6 separate regions of the Homo sapiens genome follow, and all the other regions are linked to region 2. Evidence: promoter capture Hi-C in 16 types of primary human blood cells and fetal thymus (Javierre and others, 2016). All regions are on one chromosome and are shown on one strand. Each heading gives the region's core, a stretch centred on a gene start or on the middle of the fragment in contact. The rest is flanking DNA. Distances are from core to core; before and after follow the strand shown. Region 1 overlaps TAPT1-AS1 (TAPT1 antisense RNA 1). Region 2 holds the start of LAP3 (leucine aminopeptidase 3). Region 3 overlaps TAPT1 (transmembrane anterior posterior transformation 1). Region 4 has its middle 7.3 kb from the start of FAM200B. Region 5 overlaps TAPT1 (transmembrane anterior posterior transformation 1). Region 6 overlaps LOC105374510 (a long non-coding RNA gene).

Region 1 (3,676 bases), core at 457-2,956, 1.3 Mb after region 2:
TTTCATGTAATTTGATTTTATTTTTACTGTGTAAAACTGTGTGTTTATCCAGCTAGTAAAAATAAAATCAAATTACATGAAACTAAGTACTGTTCAGAAAAAGAATATCTAGCCAAACATGTCAGATAATAAATATCAGAACTATAATAAATATTAAAATTGAGTATTTAAAAATGGGTTGCAGCACTAGAAATGAATTATTTATATTAAGACAATTGTGTTATTACACTGCTAAGTAGATGGATGAAAGGTCAGAGTGTAATTTAAAAGATGATAATGACCAGCATGTGATTTAGTCTCAGTTTTCTTAGCAATTGAATATTTATGTGTAAATTATACACGCCAAATTTGTAACCCCAGTGTATATCTGTCAAGAGTGGGCATATGCTTAGGAGAACATGAATTAACGTTAGTACCAGCTTAGGCAATGTATAATTAGGAGGATAAAATTGTCACAAGAAAATAATGCTTGCTAAAGCCACAACATGTTTTCTTTTTATTGCTATTTCAAAAAATTAACCACATTCTTCTATTCTCCTCCATGAAACTGTATACCTAAGTTATAGTATTTATTAAGCATCCACATGGAAGACAAGCAGGTAACAGTGGTTCATTATTAGAAATTGATACTAAATTGGAAAATGTCAGAAACAAGAGAAGCATTTTACATATAAACATAGGCTTAGAACTGAAAAGAAAACGGAATAGAATAGATGCATATAAAAGAGCAATTTGAAAATCTAAGGCCTTGAAATCAGATAAACTAATTTCTAAAACCTGGAAAGCAGAAACCCTGAGATTTTTGAGAATCTGAAAATTTATCGTGCATTTCCAATAAATTTTGGTATGAACGCAAAAGAGAGAGATAAATACTTGGGTTTGCCTAAAAGATAACAAACAATAGATCCTTGTAAGAGACTGCTTTCGCTTTTTAATATCTCAGAAACAAGAGGAGAAAGAAAAGGAAAAACTGTCAGAATGGAAACACTGATTAATGAACAGGATGAAAGCTAATTACAAGAGCAGGATCACAGCCCAAAAGAGCTTAAAGGGCATCGATGTCAAGAGAAAAATTACTCAGTTACCTTAATCCATCATAGTTCAACTAGAAACACTAGAAAAAAGCAAAAAATTATCCTGAATATCATGTAAAATCTTCTGATTACCAACTACTATTTGATGAGTGGCCAAACGAAGCAATAAATAACTTGCCACTGGGGAATAACAAAAAGAAAAAAAAAAAAAAACTCTGAAAGGCAAAATTCAAAAGGACTAGCAACAGGAACTGGGTGATAAATAAAATCTCCCCTGCTTCCTGAATTCCAAAATGAAAGCCTTTGCTAGCTAGAATTATAAAAAAGGATTTTTGACAGTTATCAACACATTTACTAGAAGGTCTGAATTTATTCTGCAAAAGGATTCTTGTTAATTAACCGACTAAATGATTAATACGGTTTGAAACAACCTCTATTTATTTTCATCGTGATAATGAGAAACACTTCTTTTTTCTTAGAGATAAATCTGGAATGGAAAGTCTGCTGAGTCATTACCAGGGCCCCTTTCATCAGTATTTTGAAATTTTCCAGAAATTTAAAGTACAGCACAAAATAAATTTTATATCTGATCATGAATAAAAGGCCCTATAAGCCAATAAGCCATGAAATTATATAGGTTCATACACTTTTATTACATAAACAGAACCTACCTTTAGGTCTTCAGAACATAATATCCTTCATAAAACACCCCTTTTAGCAAAGTATTGTTTTCAAAAAGTCCTATTTACAATGGTTTCTGTCATATATTTGCACGTCAAAGAAATGCTTTTAAAAATGATGTTGCTCATGACAGTTTTAGTTAAGGTGTAACAGTTACATTGGAATCAAAGGCACATTACTTAATTTGTGTTACATCTTCCAGAAATAAAGCGAACTGGTGTCCTTTACAAATCCATGGAATAAAGCCCAAAGAGAATAAAACGTAATGAGCGTCAGTCCAAAAATGATTGCCAAAGATAGAAAATATTACTACTGAAACTCAGAAATTCAAACTCACATTAATTTAGTGCAAAGGCTTGATCTGGGTTCAGTGGTATATTTTATTTCTTTAGAACATCAGCTGCAAAGCTGTTTAGATCTTTCAACAACATCAACTCTTCTTTTTGACGACAAAATGGTGAATGAGTTAAATTCAGAACTACAGTTTGTGAAGAAACATGACATTTATGATTCATGAAATAGAAGTCATGTAATGCTAAAATAAAGTTTCAACTGAGAAATACAGATTTAATTAAAACTGTGCTCTATTCCGTGCTTGAATCCACACTATGAAAATCAACTGTACATTGATTACTGAGTAATCATCTCAAATATAACTTCAGGTGCTGTTTAATGTCACCTTACAGCAGAGTTCTTAGACTCAGGTGTGCATGGGTACAATACTGGAAATTTGTTCAAAATGTAGAAACCCTGAGGCCTGGTGTGAGAAACACAGCCTTAGAGTTCTGGAAGGTCACTGAGAAACCATCACTTCTCCTCATGCCAAGGAATGAAGGACTAATGCATAGAACATAAAGGTACATAAAAACTTACATGTCTTTGTTGTGTTATCAACACAAGTATTGCATTTGAACTCTATGCATTCAAATCTTAGACTCAATTACAAAGTGACTCTAAGCATTTCATATTTTTCTACAAATGTTGATAATGCAGGCCTGTCTACTATTTTTAACTCAGAAGGGAGGTGCATGGAGTTTAGCCCAGAATTTTGGAGCTACAAGGGAGGATCGGTCATTGAGTCCAATACTCTACAGGTCAGAAAATGAAGCAGAAAGGGGTCACCTGTGCTCCTTTGGTCAAAGACTTTAGTTGAAGGGTCAGAGAGAATCCAGGCCATCTCCTGACTCGGGATTCTTTCAAGTTAGCAAATATGTGATGTTTTTATTACTCAGGAAAAGTGTACAGAACTACTTTCAAAAGTACTTTAGGGACAATACACTAGAAGTGTTATCAAGAGATAAATTGCTTTGTAGTTAAAAAGTGAAAACTACAGCCTAAATGAAAGGAAGGGAGAATAAAAGGAAAATCGTTATTTTTTTCAGCTTTCATTATACAAAAGATGTTGCCCCAATTTACCAATGAAAAGACACTGAGGGCCACAGTGGCCCTCTGAGACCCTCTTTCCAGGGTCACATAGCTGAAATATGTGGCCAAAACAGTATCTTTCCCAAGGCTTGTAACTGTAGGCCCTTGTACTACACTGTGCTATACCTGGTAGAAAAGAATATAGATATACAAACTAAAAAACATCACTTATTTTAAAACTTGTTATTTCATGAAATGGCAGACCATAATGATTTGGTGTGGACATTAAACAAAAAGAGTTTATATGCCTCATTAAGATAATTTTCTGGAGCTCTGAATCCATGGTTTATACATAATGGGTTCAGTATATTTTGTTTAGCCACAAAATCACTATTGTTAAATCTTTAATTACTGAAATATGAAGTTACGCAATTTATTTTTGAAGTCTGCGTATGCTACTCACCAAATTTTTGTTGTTTAAAAAATATTGTTTTGCAATTTTCAAAATACATTAGCCTCATAGTGCATATAGCAATCTTAAGACTTTATCAACCTCTGATTTCTAAACACACATCCAATATTCATCACTTTCCTCT
Region 2 (3,814 bases), core at 1-2,500:
CACCAAAGAAAACGGCCTTCCTTGGCATTGGTAACTCTGCCAGGTTCTAACTTCCCTAAGATTGTTCACTCCCCGGGAATCAATGGAGCCAACTGAGCAACTGTTATCTGGGTAGGCTGTGGCACAGTACTGGAGATAGCACTGGTCAGGCGACTGGTCCCTCCACCACTGAGATACCTGCAGGAGACTGGAGCTCAAGCTCCCCCTAGAACGTTCTTCTGCAGGGACAGTCATCTCTTTCTGGTGCTTAGGCATGACTCCCAAGCTTGTGCTGGTTCCGAGAGCCATTCCCTTTGCAGATCCTTCACATCTGAAGAGCGACCTTCGTAATTTTTTGGAGTTCACTTTTCTTCTGGAAGATGCTCTTAATTCTGGGAAACGTGGGTCTCTCCCCAAAGCCCTTTTCTCTAGAGAGGCATGCTTTTCCTCTAGAAACCCTTCCAAGCTACTTAACTCCCTGACCTTTCACTTCCGCGGGGGAAGGAGCCCTGTGACTCTGGGACCTCAGAAACCCTTTCACCTTGGCAAACTCGGGCTTCCTCCAAGCTCGGATGGGAGCCCCACCGCCGCGTCTTTCCCCGGGTTACTGCCAGGACCGCGGGTGACGACTGGAGCAAGTGCGCGGCCGAGTGGAGCCGGGTAAAGGGCGGCTACAACCATCACCCCCTAGCCCCGAGCAGGGGAATCGCGCCCTCAATACGACCGCTGGGGTCCTCAGCGGCCTAGGCCGATCCCCGCAAGGAGAGAATTTTTCTTTTAAACTGATTTTTGCAACTTGGCTTGGGCGCCCAGGACACCGCGGCTTCGACCAGCCCCGCAGCCCCAGTAGCCCACGGGCAGGGCCCCAGCGGCGGACCATGAGCGAGCCGCCGCCTCTCACCTTCGTCATGTCTGCGGTGGAGAGACTCCGGCTCCCGAAACGTCTCACGGCCAGACGTCGGACGACTACTCGCCCCGCAGCCGGAAGAGGCAGCAAGAACATCTTGTCGGCTCGGCCCCTCGCACCGCCCTCCAGCGAGCACGTGGAGAGCGGTGGGCGGGCGCGCCTTGGGGCGGGGCTTTCGGGGCGCAGACGGCGTGCGCGCGGACTGGCTCGGGCGCCGGGCGAGCGGACGTGCGTCTAGGGGGCGGGACGGATGGGCAGCACCGGCCGACTGGACCGCTGGGATCAAACCGCGGTTGTGGAGGGGACTCAAGGGTGCGCCCGCATTCGTGTGCGCCCGCATTCGTGTGCGCCCGCATTCGTGTGCGCCCGCGCATGCGGGCGGGGGCGAAAAGGCGGGGCTTCCGGACGCGGTTGACAGTCCCGGGAGCAACGCGAAGTAGAGGGGCGGGACCGATATGGTGACGTCACACGATGGGTGGGGCGGAGGCGGGGCGAGTTCTGCAAGCGGGCGTGGGCGGAGCGCTGGGCAACTCCCGGGAAATAGAAACTGAGTGCCAGAGCTTGTTGTCAAGGTTGCTGAATAGACGACTGCATAGTGAAGACACTCCCACTGAGTTTTCGTTTGTTTGTTTGGTTTTTTTGAGTCGGAGTCTCGCTCTGTCACCCAGGTTGGAGTGCAATGGAGCGATCTCGGCTCACTGCAACCTCCCGCTGCTTAGTTGAAACGATTCTCCTGCCTCGTCCTCCCGAGTAGCTGGGATTAGGGGCGCCCGCCACCACGCCCAGCTAATCTTTGTGTTTTTTTGTTGTTTTTTTGGATTTTTTTTTTGAGGCGGAGTCTCGCTCTTGTAGCCCTGGCTGGAGTGCAGTGGCGCAATCTCGGCTCACTGCAACCTCCGCCTTTCGGGTTCAACAGATTCTCCTGCCTCAGCCTCCCGAGTAGTTGGGACTACAGGCGCCCACCACCACACCTGGCTAATCTTTGTATTTTTAGTAGAGACAGTGTTTGGCCATGTTAGCCAGGCTGGCTTTGAACTCCTGACCTCTGGTGATACACCCGCCTCAGCCTGCCAAAGTGCTGGGATTACTTACAGGCGTGAGCCACCGTGCCCGGCAACTCTTTGTATTTTTAGTAGAGACGAGGTTTCACCATGTTGTCCAGGCTGGTCTCGAAGTCCTGACCTCGTGATCCACTTGCCTCGGCCTCGCTAAGTGCTGGGATTACAGGCGTGAGCCACCGCACCTGGCCTGAGTTATTTTTATTCGTGTCCTTTCATCTGTTCCACAGGTGCAACGGTGTAAATACTGTTTTTGAAAATGATGTAACACTATTAGGTTCGTTGACTCGTGCACATAGCAAGTCAATACGCCCAGACACCAGGGTTGCAGCAGAGAAAGAGGTGTAATCGTGGAGTCGCCAAAGGAGGAGATGGGAGGAAACCTCAAATCCATCTCCCTGAGGAATTTGGGGTCAAGGTTTTTAAGGGTTTTGGAGAGGGCTATAGTGTGGAGATCGTTGATTGAAGAGTGCAGGGTGAAGTCATGGGACAGGGCGTTGAAGAACCTGTATTCTTAAGCTGACCCCATTCCTCTCTGGGGATCTTCAAACTGGTAGCTGGAATTCAAGGTCTGAAAAATATCTTAAGCGATCCTTAAACAGAAAGCTTATGATTCTAATGTCAGAGATCCTGTCTATAGGAACAATGGGAATGCAAATGGTCAGTATGTAGTGCTAGGTGACTTTTAGCAACAAGGAAGTGGGCCAAAGTACAGCCTGATTAATGCTTAATTATAACTATATTTCTGCCTAGAACTTGGCATGAAATTTTTGTCAACACAGTGGGGATGGTTTCAATAGAAAGTTTTCAAGTAGTGCTCAATATTTTTATATATTTTTATTTTCTGTAAAGCGTTTTGTTTTTTTTAATTCCTTATTTTTTACTTTTTTTTTTTTAACGGAGTCTTGCTCTGTCACCCAGGCTGGAGTGCACTGGTGTGATCTCAGCTTATTGCAACCTCCACCCCTGGGTTCCAGCGATTCTCCTGCCTCAGCCTCCCAAGTAGTTGGGATTACAGGCGCCCGCCAACACGCCTGGCTAATTTTTGTATTTTCAGTAGAGATGGAGTTTCACCATGTTGGCCAGGTGGGTCTTGAAGTACTGACCTCAAGTGATCCACCCGCCCTGGCCTCCCAAATTGCTGGGATTACGGGCGTGAACCACCGCGCCCGGCTGGTTTTAAATTTCTCATTGTAAAAAAGTACACAGCTGAATGCAACTCGGAGAATATGGGTAAGCACGAGGAGGGATACAAAAATTGTTCTTAATAATGACACCAGCCAGCTGGGTGCAGTGACTCATGCTTATAATCCCAGGACTTTGGGAGGCCGAGGTGGGAGGATCGACTCAGCCCAGGAGTTCAAGACCACCCTGGGCAAGGTAGTGAGATACCCATCTCTACAAAAAGTTAAAAAATTAGCCAGATGTGTGCCTGTAGTCCCGCTAATGGGGAGACTGAGGTAGGAGGTTTGCTTGAGCCTGGGAGGTTGAGTCTGCAGTGAGCCATAATTGTACTACTACACTCCAGCTTAGGTCACAGAGCAAGACCCCATCTCTTTTTAAAAAAATTACACCACTGTTGATCTGATTGCAATTTTAGCTGAGGTGCAGGGGTGTGGGGAGGCTTACACCAGCTGCAGTGAGCAAAGTCTTCACCTTGAGCTCAGTTGCAGGAAAGAAAGAATGTCTATTTCACTCTCCAAGAGCTAGACACTCCAGAGGAGAGATTTGATCTTCCTCTCTTGAAGGCTGAGTGGGTTGGACTGGTAGGTCCACTCTGGCTTCCACCTTCTCTAGATAGTTAAAATGGAGTTGCATCATAAACTCAATAAACTCACCAAATTTTATCTATATTTGCTCCAAAGACAGC
Region 3 (3,927 bases), core at 1,309-3,808, 1.4 Mb after region 2:
GCCCCTGTTACGTGGGGGTACAGGGCACATAAAATAGCATTAGAAGAGTCTTTTCTAGACCAGCACGGTGGTACACACCTGTCATCTTAGAACTTTGGGAGGCCAAGGTGGGAGGGTAGCTTGAGGCCAGGAGTTAAGACTAGCCTGGGCAACATAGCGAGACCCTGTCTCTACAAAAAATAAAAAATTAGCCAGTTGTGGTGGCACATACATGTAGTCCCAGCTACTTGGGAGGCTGAGGTAGGAGGATTCCTTGAGCCCAGGAATTCGAGGCTGCAGTAAGCTGTGATTGCACCACTGCATTCCATCCTGGTTGACAGAGCAAGACTGTCTCTTTAAAAAAAAAAAATTCTTAAAGTGTTTGTTCTAAAAACTAAAAGATGTTACAGGGAACTGGGAAATCTTAAATCCTCTGCCAGTATTTACTTTTACTAGTGGTTAATGATCCCTACCTCTAACCTTTTTTAGATATTTTAAGATTTTTTGTAGTGCATAAGATGATTGCTTTCTTACATTAGTTTGAAATACTTTGAATCTAAATTAATTTGAGTATCATTTGAAAATAAGATGTTTTCTTTTTTCAAAGTTTTATAGCTAAAATGACACTAGAGGGCAGCCTGTTACACATGACATTTAAGACTCCATTGAGGATTTCCCCTGCAAACACTTCTTACTATTTCTGCTTTGGATTAACTGAAAAATTAATTTCATGCTATCACTAATAAATACTTATATGTATAAAAACATGAAATGCAGTTAAAATTATATAACTGTTTCAGCAATTTTAAATGATAGGAGTTTAAATGAAACTTAAATTTTCATTTAAATTTTAAATGAAACGGAGTTCAGGCAATTATAAATGCTTTGAGGATAGGCCAGGTTACACAGAATATGAAAATCCTGCCTAATGTCTTAGTGCCTTAAGTATGGTTTATCAAAATTGAGTAATTTGTGCTTACAGTAATATAGGCTGCAATTTTTGTTTCTTTGAGCAATTTAGAAAATATCTCTTTGAGCATTATTTTTAAAGTCACGAAACTTGAAATATTTGATAAGGTAAAAGTTACATAAACAAAGCTATTGTTAATATTAAGTCTAAGACCTTTCAAATATTTTGGAATATAAAAATACTTTTTAGGTTTACCAAATGATTATTTAGAAATAGCCAGATTTTGCCTTCTGATAGCTTTTATTCCTGTGTTTTCTACTTCCATTAAAGATTATTCGATTTGTCTTGCCTGTAGTGATGTCATGTTCCATCCTTTTCAGCAAGCAAAAAGTGCTCTTTCCTTCAGTCTGACTTTATTTTTTTCAAAGAAATAAGAAGAAGTGAAATAGACTGGCAAAGAAGTTGATTGCAATTTTTTAAATAATTTTTTTTTTTCACTCTCCTGTATTTCAATCTTCTTTCTGTAAAAACTTACTGTCTTCCTAGTCTCTTTGTTCTTTGAAATTGTTTTCACAAAAGGGAGGAAACAGTCCATTTGTCAAATTAATCACAATGCTGACGTGAAAACAGTAACTCTTTGCAGACTCTAGAACTGTTTGGTTCAGTATCACATCAATAATGTAAATTATTGCCTTCTTTTTATATTTGAGATCAGTGTTCTCACCTCATCTGTTTGCAGATTTACATCTTGTACAGCATTTGTGAGAAGCTTTTTAAAGCACATAGACCCCCGTGTTCTCTGCTTCATAACTTAATATTTGAACCTATTTCTAGTTCTTCTGCAAACTTGCCATGGTTTTTGACTTAAGTAAAATAAAGACCCTGTCCCTTCACTAAGGCTGAGGACAAGGGTGGTTCTACAGTGCCTTAAGTAAACCCAGCCTTCATCATGATGGCTCATCCAGCAGGGTGTTTTGCTGGCTTTGACCCTGTTGTTTAAGTACTGTTCATTATGAGATGTTGGCAGGGTAATTATCTGCAGTCATATTTGTGTGTGGTGTTTGCCAAGGATGCACTCCCTCCCTAAAAGTTAATGTCTGTCCTCAGTGATCTCAAGAATACTTCACTGAAATAGTTTCTGATGAATTAACAACCTTGAAAAATCTTTGCCCACAAATATTTTGTTGTAGACTTAAAAAAAAAATTAGAAAATGCATCTAAATTCTTTAAAAGCAGATTCACTTATGTATATCTTCCCTCTTTCCCAGATAAGAGTAGTGTCATTTTAGAAATCATTTGAGAAACTTCTTGAACGAGGATAATCTTTTTAATGATTCATGACATATAAAACAGAACTAAGTTTTGATTTATTATATGAAGTGTCTATTCCTTGGAAGAATGATAGAATTTTTTGTTTTTCAGAAAAGCAGACTGCTCTATATTATGTTAGAGGTACGAAACATCCTTTTTCCAAATTTGCTTGTAGAATTGAATGAAAAATAGCTAATTATGTACATTTGATTTACCTGGCATTTTTGTCAGCCCTCTATTCTCCTGAAATTTGTGACTTCGTTTTGTGCTTTAGAATTCTCAGTCACGTAAGTTAAAAGTTAAAGAAGATTGTAGAGAAAAATGATATAGCCTGGTACCAAGAATTGAGTTATTGTTGAAAAAACTTTACTGAAACATTTTAGAAAGTGATACATGAGTTGAACAGGCTTAAGTAATAAATGCCGGAGTGTTTTTTGGTTTTTGTTTTTTACTATTAGAGCAACTAAAATATGTGTGAGCAAATGTTCTGTCCCCTGGCCCGGCTTTAGGCATAACTCTCACATGAGGCTTCACAGGCTTTTATTTTTCTTGGTTGAAGAGGCAATAGTATCATTTTCTTTTGAGAGTTTATCCCATGGGAGAGCTCTTGTCTCCCAGAATTATGAATTTCAGATGCTTGAGAGTTTCCTAACCTTTTGAGTTTCCTTCGTATGCCTTACCTCTTTCGAAATAGTTCTGCCCAAGATTAACCTCACCTATATGTTATAATAGATTTTTCTCTTTTTAGACAAAATTAAGCCTTGATTTTGGCCTAAGTGATTGATGCCACCACTGTAGCACAAGTAGGGAGAGCTCTTGGTAACTTTCTCTGGGGAAACAAATATGCCTTTTACTTCCTTTTACCAGGGCTGATCTATGTGGCTTATTTGTTGAGAGCAATATATTTGTTATTAGAAAGTCTTCGTAACACCAGGTTTTATTGTCCCGTTTCCTCACCATGGAGCTCTAAGTAGCGTAGCAACATTACAATCTTCTCTCTTTCTTTCTCTCTCGTAAATCAGACCGAAGGGAGGAGCACTTTCACTTCCTTTATAGAATGGAATGTGGTGGCACAGGGACTCCTTGTGGTGAGTAAACCCTGATTTTTCCTTCTATACTCTTGGCCAAATTGACATTCATTAAATGCAAAAGTAAACAGGATAGGCAGACATAGCCATTAGGGGGTAGAAACATACTGAAGAAAATGTGGATCCCTGTCCTTTTTAAAATAGCATCTTTACTTGGTCTTAAAGCTTTGTCCACATTTCTTTGTGAAGGATTTGACTGTGATTTCACCTAACATGAAAATCCGCTCAAAAGTCATCTTTACACATGTTAGCTTAGACTTAGCAAATACTTCATCCCCAAAGCCACAGAAATTGGCTGAGCTTAATTCCTTCCATATAAGCAGTTTTTATTTTGCATTACTAAAATTGTGAACATAGCTTTATAAATAAGTTATTTTTTTCAGTATAGTTTGAAATTAAAGTTTAAGAAATGGTTTGAATCATTCCGTTTAAGTATTTATTTTTCTGTTACATATGAGTCAAACTGAAGATTTAAGATACTTAATTTTCTAATTCAGGAAAACATCTTGATTTCACTACTTTATTCCAGTTTACTTAAATTATAAAAGGATTTCACTTTCAAAAATAAAAACATATTATTTTGCATTTTTATTTCAGTAGTGCTTGTGTTTCTTCACTCTTCCAATTATACCACAAATG
Region 4 (3,504 bases), core at 613-3,112, 1.9 Mb after region 2:
GCGGTAGTTTATAAACATCCTATTGCATCATATCAGGAGGTGAAAGGCTTCAATAATATTTTTGAAACAGTGTCCTAATATATATGGATTAAGGATTATAGAGCAATAATATATAATTTCCATAAGCTGGGTTGCTCTGTAGTCATATCTCCTCTAACCTCCTTTCTGGTTTTAGATGGAGAAGCTAAGATCCAGAAAGTTAAGTATTTGCCAAAGGTCAGACAGCTAATTTAATAGTAAAAGTAGAGCTCTTTTTCACCTCTCACTCCTTTTAAAATTTTGTCTCATAAATCTTTGATATCTGTGGATCAGAAAGAATTCTGTTTGAGGTAGTCAGAATAGCATTTCTGCGTATTCAACTAGAACAGGAGTTTTGGCTGGGCGCGGTGGCTCATGCCTGTAATCCCAGCACTTTGGGAGGCCGAGGCAGGCGGATCATCTGAGGTCAGGAGTTCGAGACCAGCTTGGTTAACATGGTGAAACCCCATTTCTACTAAAAATACAAAAAATTAATGGGGTGTGGTGTCAGGTGCCAGTAATACCAGCTACTTGGGAGGCTGAGGCAGGAGAATTGCTCGAACCTGGGAGGCAGAGGTTGCAGTGAGCTGAGATGGCGCCATTGCACTGCAACTTGGGCAGCAAGAGCAAAACTCTGCCTCAAAAAAAAAAAAAAAAAAAAAAAAAATAGGAGTTTTGTGACCGAGAAGTTAAGACATAGTGAAGGTTCAACTCCTTGAGTGGTTCTGTTTTTGCACTGCCTGTGTGGTAGCTAAGACTTGAATTTGAAAGTAATAGTTAGAGGGGTTAGATAGGATCTAAGCCTGAAGGCTGGTAAATCCAGGATAGGAACAATGCAAGAAAATCTTTATATACTATAGTAGTAGTTGGTCATTTAGTCCTAAATAATTTTTATTTGTGGTACTTATTCACCTCATTTTTATATACTAGTATTTTGCTTCCCATATTAATTTCTACTTGTCTTATAAATGTTAAGTATAAATTAATCTTAATTTGAAGAAAATGAATTATGGAACAAAATATAGGAAGTGAAAACTAGAGGGAGGTAGCTTTCCTCTATAAATTATGTGACTTAACATAAAAAATCAATGATGTGGAAAAGTCTTCTACAAGCCTGGTTACACATCACAGAAATACCTTACAGTTGCTTCATCTGTTTTGATGCATAAAGTGTTTTGTAGTGGCAGGCCCACTGCTTTTTTTTTCGTGATTCCTAGTGAACTGATGGGAATTTGTGCAAACAATGATTGTAGGTATATGACAAATTAATTTATCATTAAAAACCATAACCGACTGGGTGCGGTGGCTCGTGCCTGTAATCCCAGCACTTTGGGAGGCCGAGGCAGACGGATCACAAGGTCAGGAGATCGAGACCATCCTGGCTAACACGGTGAAACCCCGTCTCTACTAAAAACACAAAAAATTAGCCAGGCATGGTGGCATGCGCCTGTAGTCCCAGCTACTAGGGAGGCTGAGGCAGGAGAATAGTGTGAACGTGGGAGGCGGAGCTTGCAGTGAGCCAAGATCGCGTCACTGCACTCCAGCCTGGGCGACAGAGTGAGACTCTGTCTCAAAAAAAAAAAAACCCAAAAATCCCATAACGTTGATAATCTTCTAAGATGATAGAAATGAGTTGATAAGGAGAAAAGAAGGTTTTATGATTAAAATGAAAGTTTCATGAGTAATAATTTTGTAAGGAAAAAAGTTATGATTACATATAATTTCACTAATATATAAACGTAAAATGGAGAAATAATCCCAAATAAATACAATATAATAAAAATTGGGGGACATTTTATTTAAAGTGATGAGTGTGCTATGTATTCATAAGTTGATTTCAGTTTGGGATCTCAAGTGCAGTTCTCACATACCCAGTACAGTGTTAACTCTGTTTCTTTGTTTTTATGGGTTAAGAATTAAAAGTACCAATAGCGGTACTACATTCATGCCACTTAGCAATGAACAATCCTATTTCCTCCAAAAGAATGATACATCATTATGACATAGGGCTAGAGAATTAAAAAAAAAAAAAAAACACGATGCATTTGATATTTCATAATCATTCTTTAGTATTTCCAGAGAAGTAAGCTACAATATTTCCTATTCTGCAGGCACCAAGCATAACTCAGTTTTTGATTCAGAGTGTTGGAAAACAAATCTATCCAGTTTTTTCCTTGAATGTATCAATTTTTGTTCTGGCATGTAATGGTTAAAAGTTTGATACAGGCCAGAAACAATAAAAAATGGACAAAATATATAAAACAATGTTTTCCAAGATATTGGATATCAGGCAATGAAGGACAGTGAACCTTGATCAATAGGAAACAAAGTGAGTCCTATGATTGCCTCAGTTTATTGCCTTGGGAGAATTTCTAAGCCATAGTACAGGGAGAGGGGAACATATGCAGCCTAGTGGAATCCCTCTGTTGATAGAGCCTGGAGCCTGGTGAAACCAGTGCAGCCAGAGTTTGCTAGAAGGGAGAGAGCTGCATAGAGAGAGAATTCTAGTGATCTGGAATGAATCTCTCCTGATTCTTCAGGTAAGTATTGATCACTGTATGCATGTGAGGAAATGACCTGAGGCCAAGGAAAGGATCATCCAAAAATATTACAGTACAGTCTTGGATCACATAAAGACATTTTGTTCAATGATAGACTTCATAAGATTATAATGGAGCTGGAAAATTCCTACCACCTAGTGATGTCATAGATCTCAATGATGATGTCTTATGTGTCTGTGGTGATGCTGGTCTACTGTCTTGCTGATACATTTATCCTTATTTTATCTTTATTTTTTTTGAGATGAGGTCTCACTCTGTTGCCCAGGGTGGAGTAGAGTAGTGCAATCTTGGCTCACTGCAGCCTCGACCTTCTGGGCTCTGGTGATCCTCCCACCTCAGCCTCCCAAGTAGCTGGGACTACAGGCACGGGTCAACACACCCGGCTAATTTTTTGTATTTTTTGTAGAGACAGGATTTTGCCATGTTGTCCAGGCTGGTTTCAAACTTGTGGGCTCAAGCGATCCAGCTACCTCGGCCTCCCAAAGTGCTTATTACAGGTGTGAGCCATTGCACCTGCCCTATTGTTATTTTAGAGTATACTTTTTCTACCTATGTATATTTTCAAAAGTTAACCGTAAAACAACTTCAGACAGATCCTTCAAAGTATTACAGACGAAGGCATTGTTATCATAGATGACAGCTTTGTGCATGTTATTGCCCTTGAAGACCTTCCAGGGTGACAAAATCTGGAAGTGGAAGACAGTGATACTGTTGATTGTGACCCTGTGTAAGTCTAGGCTAATTTGTGTCTCGTAAAAATAAATTTTTTAAATAAAGTTTATAAAATAAGGATATAAAAAATATTTTTGTACAGCTGTACAACATGTATTTTAAGCTAAATGTTATTACAAGAGAGTCAAAAAGTTAATTTAAAAAAATTTTTAAGTTTATAAAATAAAAATTTACTGTTGAAGAAAAACATTTT
Region 5 (3,532 bases), core at 18-2,517, 1.4 Mb after region 2:
TGTAGACCTATTGTTTAAAACCATAGTCAAGTTGGCTTCTAAGTCTTTCCAAGGGCTTTTAAGGAGATATATATATATATTTTGTTGTTGTTGTTTTGAGACACAGTCCTGCTGTGTCACCTACGCTGGAGTGCAGTGGCGTGATCTCGGCTTACTGCAACCTCTGCCTCCTGGGTTCAAGCGATTCTCTTGCCTCAGCCTCCCAAGCAGCTGGGACTACAGGCGCCCACCGGCACGCCCGGCTAATTTTTTTTTGTACTTTTAGTAGATAGGTTTCACTATGTTGGCCAGGCTGGTCTTGAACTCCTGACCTCGTGATCTGCCCACCTCGGCCTCCCAAAGTGTTGGGATTACAGGCGTGAGCCACCGTGCCTGGCCAAGGATATTTTTTACTATAAACGCTTCCCCCCTCACATGTAGGCTTTAGATCATAGTACTCCTAGAAGGTGCAACTCCTTAAGTAGATCTGCATAAATGAAATCAACCTTCCTCCCTTGTCATTTTTTGGAGGGAACATTAAGACCACATTTGGTAGAAAGGACCACAAGGCCAGCTCAGAGCAAAGAGAACAGTGGACAGTTGGAAACCTTTTGGTAACCTGCGTTCTGGAAGAGAGTTTACCTCCTGCAGAGTAAAAGTAGGAAGCTGTAGATGAAGTAAGGGGTGCTGAGGGTCATTGAGGGGATGGGCTATCAGGGAAGTGTAATGCACTGGGAAGAGGTGGGGTCGAGCATCCAGAGCCTTCGCTTCTCACCTCAAGCTTCCAGTTGTAGTGAGTGGAAAGTATATAAATAACTTCCTTTGACCTTGTTTTTCTCACCTGAGATGAGATAACTATGGAGTAATTTGCTTTAGAGGAACAGAGGAAAAACACGGGTGAATGGAAAGATCCAAGGAAAGGGAGGTTTTTCTGATCCGGTTGAGGTTGCACTTCGCGTAATAACTATTGTGAGTATCATGTTGGTAAGTCTTCATGTAGGGAAATGGCATTATTTAGATGTTTGTGCAGGATCTCTGAGGCTAAACTAAGAAGGGAGCTGGGGCACCAGTATCCATGTAGTTCATCCAGGATGGTTCTTGGACTAAAGTGGTGCCCGTTGTGTGACTTTGCTCCCTTTTGACTCTATATATTGCTCTATTTTATATATTCTTGACACCTACTGATTTTCCTTCCATGTCTGTCAGTCCAGGTACTGTATCACCTGTAAGAACCAAGACTGAGCTCTTGAAAAATACTTTTCTGACTATTCTAGCCCTTAATAATTATTCCTTTCCATATTCCTGTGGCATTTTCAGGTTATACCACAAAGAAGAATACTTTTCTCAAAAATACTTGCTGATCATTGTGTGCAGTTCTAGGCATAGAATTATAGATAACATTTATTTTGGTCTCTTTGTTTTATATGTATATTACCTGTGGCCCCAGCTAGCGTGGAAGTTCCTTGATAAATACTGTTCTTTTTGTTTTCTGTCATTTTCTTTTCTGTAGAGCTTTCATTGTTGAGGTTCCTCAGTGCTGAACTAACAAGAGGGTACTTCCTTGAACATAATGAGGCCAAGTATACAGAAAGAAGAGAAAGAGTATACACTTGTTTGCGAATACCAAGAGAATTGGAAAAGGTACTATTTTTTCTTCATTACCAGACATCATTTTGAAAGTTATGTCAAAGTATTAATTATGCAAAAAAATGGTCAACAGCTAGAGTTGAGTTTTTTAAATAATTGAAATAATGTTATTGGGGGAGTAGAAATTTCCTTACAGGAAGAAGCTTTAAAGTTACATTTTTTAGTGTAAGACCCAGTGATAGGATATTAATAGATCTATCAAAATCTGAACTTTTCTGCCTATCATTATCATTGTGTGCTACATCAAAATAACTTTTGTAAGGAATTAATCTCTACTTCTGTACCCTTTTAGTTCCCTTCAGTTCTCTTTTACTAGAAACAGGTTTTTTTTCCCCCATTCAGCATGATAAATTATTTAATTTCAGCCTTTTTAAAGGTTTCAGTTTCTCAGAAAGCCCACATGTTTATAAACATACAGGACAGTCTCTTCAAAGAAAAAGATGGTTTGTTTAATCTTTATCACAGGAAGCATCACATTACAGGGTGAGTGTAGTAACAGCAGCACTACATCTTCACGTGTCTTATTCCTTGGCTGTGCCTTATCCTATCAAGACCAATAAAATAGGCTGGGAAAGCAGCCCCTTCTCCCCTAGGCGATGCTAGAGTTGGTGAGTCTAAGCAATTCCAAAATTTCTTGCTAAAAGAAAAGAAGAAATAATTCAGCTTCAGCTATATTGAAACATGTTTTCATACTTCTGTAGTAACGTAAATCTTGTAATAGTCCAGTCGTCTTCTTAGAATCATACTTTCTGTTGGAGTGGCTATCAGAAGAGTTTGGTTGGCTGGATTTATTGGTACATTGTAGTAACAAGAGGTACTGCAGGCAATGAGGAGTAAGGACCCAGCTGGTTTGGCTGATGTTCTATTTCTGATAGTCTATCAGTTTAATAGAAGAAAAAGAGCGAAATGTAGAGTGACAGTTTCAGAAATGTTGCTTTATGTAGGTTCTTGGTGAAGCGTCACTTGCTGAAGTTTTAGGGAGTTCTGTATTAGGGTGGGATTTAGAGAGCTGGTGAGCAAGCAAAGATTAGAGAACAAATATGGCAGTGGTTTGATTGCCTTTGGCAAGGATCATTAAATATGCTCAACTATTACTGTATTCCTGCATTTCTAGAGGACTAGAGTTCCCTGGGGGGGCCTGAGGGACTTACAGATAAGGAGGGAGGAGGAGTGGGCAGGGCTCTCCACAGCACTCCTCTCCAGCGCAGCAACAGCTCTGTCTTATACATTGAGATTTATCGAAGATTTTGTTTGGGGAAAGGAGTAGGGTAGGCGGATGTTTCTTTTACTTGGAAAAAAATAAAAGATTAAACCAGTTCTTGTGTCTTAAAAGACTGTTAGCTTGCTTTGCAGCTTTCTTCCAGCAATAAGCCATGAGATGGAAGTGTGAGGACACAGTGCAGGGGAAGTGGGAAGGACAGCCTGCCAGGGCCTGTATTTGGACAGGATAGTGCCAGCCACAATCAGCTTTTGCCCACCTGGCCTCAGCCCTCTACAGGGGAATTTGTTTCCTGTCTTTCTGAGTAGTTATGAACTCCCATTTTTCTCTGGGGAGAACACAGAGGGATTTGCCTGCAACTCCCACCAAACTTTATGAACACAACCAGGGGACTGCTTCAAAGTGGGTTGGTATCTGTCTCACCCCTTTTATTACCCCTCCTGTGGCAAAACTAATGAGCAGTGGCAACATCCACTCCTGATTTTGTTACCTCAGCAGAGACAGGCTGGTTTCACGCTTCCTTCTTTCTTTCTCTTAAGGCAACACTGAAATAGCAAGCAATGTTTTGGGGTAGATTTCTCACAGAAACTAATAAGCATTTCATGGTTGTAATTATGAGTATAAATTGTTTTCTGGAGAAAATAGCTTATACTTATGTCTTGATGAGACTAAAGTATAAACCAGTGA
Region 6 (3,474 bases), core at 198-2,697, 1.0 Mb before region 2:
GCATATCAGTACCACAGCTGGTAGGCTTGCAAAGTCTTACAGAGCAAAGTCATTTGAACTTCTTCACCTACCCAGGCGTTCTGACCCATTCCACAATGCGCTTCCAAGGAGGTTTTGGCATCTCCACCGCATTCATTCTGGTCCATCTTTATATTGAAGCTTCAGGTGCCAGTTCAGAAAACTCCAGGTATATTTTCCAGAACTTGAATCTAGCATCATGGATGAGTGCCTCAACATCAAGTATCTCCCCCATTGGCCAGGTGCGGTGGCTCATGCCTGTAATCCAAGCACTTTGGGAGGCCAAGGCGGGTGGATCACCTGAGCTTGGGAGTGCAAGACCAGCCTGACCAAGATGGAGAAACCCCGTCTCTACTAAAAATACAAAATTAGCTGGGCGTGGTGGCGCATGCCTGTAATCCCAGCTACTCGGGAGGCTGAGGCAGGAGAATTGCTTGAACCCAGGAGGTGGAGGTTGCAGTGAGCTATGATCATACCATTGCACTCCAGCCTGGGCAACGAGAGTGAAACCTCGTCTCAAAAACAAAAACAAAAACAAAAAAACAAAACATAAAAACCTTCCCCATTTAACAGTGTAGTGTACTTTGCCTGGTCCCCCACAGCCTCACATTTCACTCCCACAGTGATCCCCCAGTCCTCACCAGTGCCTATTAGTCAAGTTCTGCAATCCTTTGAGATGTAAGCCCTTTTATCCTGGAGCTGAGATAGTACTTCTCCATTCAGATATTGCTAAGTCCTGACCCTAGATATTGGCCTGGAGGGACTGAGGGGTGGCGGAGGCAGATCTTGAGAACAGAATAGCATTATGAGGCCCTGTCTCAGTGTAGATCCTCACATGGTCACCACGTAAGAGGCTGCTATCCTCCAGCAAGAGGAAGGTGACTGGGTCTTCTGGTAGTGGAAATTCAAGGGAATTTGCAGATTTAAGATTCTCAGGCTCCTGACTTTTTAATGATCACCATTCTAACTGGTGTGAGATGGTATCTCATTGTGGTTTTGATTTGCATTTCTCTGATGGCCAGTGATGATGAGCATTTTTTCATGTGTTTTTTGGCTGCATAAATGTTTTCTTTTGAGAATTGTCTGTTCAGAGGATGTGGAGAAATAGGAACACTTTTACACTGTTGGTGGGACTGTAAACTAGTTCAACCATTGTGGAAGTCAGTGTGGCGATTCCTCAGGGATCTAGAACTAGAAATACCATTTGACCCAGTCATCCCATTACTGGGTATATACCCAAAGGATTATAAATCATGCTGCTATAAAGACACATGCACACTTATGTTTATAGCAGCACTATTCACAATAGCAAAGACTTGGAACCAACCTAAATGTCCAACAATGATAGACTGGATTAAGAAAATGTGGCACATATACACCATGGAATACCATGCAGCCTTAAAAAATGATAAGTTCATGTCCTTTCTAGGGACATGGATGAAGCTGGAAATCATCATTCCCAGCAAACTATCGCAAGGACAAAAAACCAAACACCACATGTTCTCACTCGTAGGTGGGAATTGAACAATGAGAACACATGGACACAGGAAGGGGAACATCACACACCAGCGACTGTTGTGGGGTGGGGGGATGGGGGAGGGATAGCATTAGGAGATATACCTAATGCTAAATGACAAGATAATGGGTGCAGCCAACCAACATGGCACATGTATACATATGTAACAAACCTGAACGTTGTGCACATGTACCCTAAAACTTAAAGTATAATAATAATAAAATAAAATTTAAAAAAAAAAGATTCTCAGGCTCATCCACCCAAATATACCCTAGCCATTTCTCAGGCTCCCACTCTTTTTCTGTAAGGTCCTAAGTAGTGTGGCTGTGCATTCAGTCTCCTCTGTGGTTCTGCCACTCAGATTTTCTACATAATCTGCACCTTAACCATAAAAGGAATCATTGCTCTCCAAAGCAGCCATAAAGCCCCTCTGACCTTCATGGCATGCTTTGAGTTCACAGTTTACTGCTCTGATGCTATCATTTTCTTTTCCTAAGTATTACAATGCAGTTAACCCACTCCAATATCCTCCCAATTATCATTTTCCCCACACTATTTATTCAGCAGAGCCTTTGCACAAAATAACGCCCCACCTACTTCTTTCACATTATCGCAATTAATCAGAGGTAAAAACACCATTCATTATAATGCCTCTACATGCCAGGGGTTATTATCCCATTGTTTACAACCACCACGGGTCCCATATTGCATACAGACCATAAGCAGTTCATCCCCAAAACAGATCCTTGGGATCTGCTTTCTAGGGATTTTCCTGGACTCAACTTCCATAGCCTAGATTTCCACAGTATTGGAGGCAGAAGACTTCTGTGCGATTATTTACAGGAAATATATATGGGGACAGAGGATAAGATGGTAAAAGAAGAGATATTTAAGCAGATAATTAAAGATAACAATAAATTCTAGTGTGTGTGTGTGTGTGTGTGTGTGTGTTTATGTATATATGAACAGTACCTACTCTACAACCCATCTGAGAAGGTGGTTAATAATACTTGAAGAATGATGGATGTTTTCATGGAGAACTGAAAATAATACATGCAGTTACATAAAATAATAACATTCATTCTGCTTTCACTGTGTCTCAGGATCTATGCAAAGCCCTTATCTTTCATGATTTTAATAATCCCGTGATATAGGTAGTGCTGGCTCCATTTTAGAGATGAAAACACTAACAAAAGCTTAGAGAATTCCCACAGATGTTAAGTGGCAGAGCCAGGGTCACTGCTTCTAAGTATTATGCTATGCTTTTTCCTGAAGGACTTGACATTGGCCCATTTTTAAGAGATGAGGGGCTTTCTTGTCAATGACAGAAGGAGAACATATACCCTAGACAAAGAAGATAGGAAATGCAAAGGCAAGGAGAAGTGAAAGGACTATCATGCTTTAGATCGCAAGAAATTCAGCGTGAACTCAGATTCATCCAGAAGATAAACAGGATAGGAAAGGATGAGTTGGGAAAGAAAGGGTGAGAGTGTTTAGACTGTGAAATAAGTTGGTGGATTTTACAACAGTCCCATCAGGAGGTCATGAAACTCTAAAAGTGGATTATGACCCTGGAGATGAGCAAAGGGACATGAGAGCTTGTGTTCCTTCATTGCTGTTAAATTTAATTCCCTCTTCCCTGGCCCTGAGTGCCAGATACCCCACTTAGCTCCATATGGCTCTGGAAAAATCACTCAACCTCCCCACCCTCAGTTTCTCTAGATATAACATAAGAAAAAATAATAGCTGTTACCTATGGGCCTTGTTGGATTGTTATAAAGGTTACATGAGATCATGCAAGTACAGTACCCAACACCCACATCGAATTTATGTGAATTCAACTGTAAGCTCTTGTCCAGAGATAGAGATAAAAAGAAAGAAAGGGAAGAAATAACAGTTCAACAGTGTGTGAAATTCCACTTTCAATAATTGGTTGCTTG

The links. The method cuts DNA at HindIII sites, captures the fragments that hold promoters and counts their contacts. A CHiCAGO score of 5 or more calls a contact.
Region 1: a contact is called between a fragment that was not itself captured here and the fragment with the promoter of LAP3 in region 2, in 2 of 17 cell types (total CD4 T cells and total CD8 T cells). The highest score is 6.4, in total CD4 T cells.
Region 3: a fragment that was not itself captured here is called in contact with the fragment with the promoter of LAP3 in region 2 in 1 of 17 cell types (total CD4 T cells); the score reaches 5.2 in total CD4 T cells.
Region 4: a fragment that was not itself captured here is called in contact with the fragment with the promoter of LAP3 in region 2 in 1 of 17 cell types (total CD4 T cells); the score reaches 5.7 in total CD4 T cells.
Region 5: a fragment that was not itself captured here is called in contact with the fragment with the promoter of LAP3 in region 2 in 6 of 17 cell types (non-activated CD4 T cells, naive CD8 T cells, M0 macrophages and 3 more); the score reaches 6.3 in non-activated CD4 T cells.
Region 6: a fragment that was not itself captured here is called in contact with the fragment with the promoter of LAP3 in region 2 in 1 of 17 cell types (total CD4 T cells); the score reaches 5.6 in total CD4 T cells.

Annotation. Positions count from the first base shown.
Region 1 is chr4:16,229,636-16,233,311 of GRCh38, reverse strand. The region is part of intron 1 of TAPT1-AS1 (TAPT1 antisense RNA 1); the gene reads right to left. Among named protein-coding and RNA genes, the nearest start is that of TAPT1-AS1, 4.8 kb to the right of the region's middle. The HindIII fragment of the contact is 8,035 bases long and covers 1-3,676 here.
Region 2 is chr4:17,574,634-17,578,447 of GRCh38, reverse strand. LAP3 (leucine aminopeptidase 3) reads right to left here and starts at 1,250. Exons shown (of 13, transcript NM_015907.3): 1 at 881-1,250. The coding sequence starts at 982. RefSeq lists enhancers at 703-902, 1,243-1,602 and a silencer at 973-1,182. The HindIII fragment of the contact is 2,285 bases long and covers 268-2,552 here.
Region 3 is chr4:16,196,019-16,199,945 of GRCh38, reverse strand. All of the region lies in intron 3 of TAPT1 (transmembrane anterior posterior transformation 1), which reads left to right. Among named protein-coding and RNA genes, the nearest start is that of TAPT1, 28 kb to the left of the region's middle. The HindIII fragment of the contact is 1,795 bases long and covers 1,661-3,455 here.
Region 4 is chr4:15,672,754-15,676,257 of GRCh38, reverse strand. It overlaps a transcript of FBXL5 not described here and a transcript of FAM200B not described here. Among named protein-coding and RNA genes, the nearest start is that of FAM200B, 7.3 kb to the left of the region's middle. The HindIII fragment of the contact is 8,677 bases long and covers 1-3,504 here.
Region 5 is chr4:16,211,856-16,215,387 of GRCh38, reverse strand. TAPT1 (transmembrane anterior posterior transformation 1) reads left to right here. Exons shown (of 14, transcript NM_153365.3): 2 at 1,490-1,620. Among named protein-coding and RNA genes, the nearest start is that of TAPT1, 13 kb to the left of the region's middle. The HindIII fragment of the contact is 1,009 bases long and covers 763-1,771 here.
Region 6 is chr4:18,587,471-18,590,944 of GRCh38, reverse strand. The region is part of intron 1 of LOC105374510 (a long non-coding RNA gene); the gene reads right to left. Among named protein-coding and RNA genes, the nearest start is that of LCORL, 570 kb to the right of the region's middle. The HindIII fragment of the contact is 2,571 bases long and covers 162-2,732 here.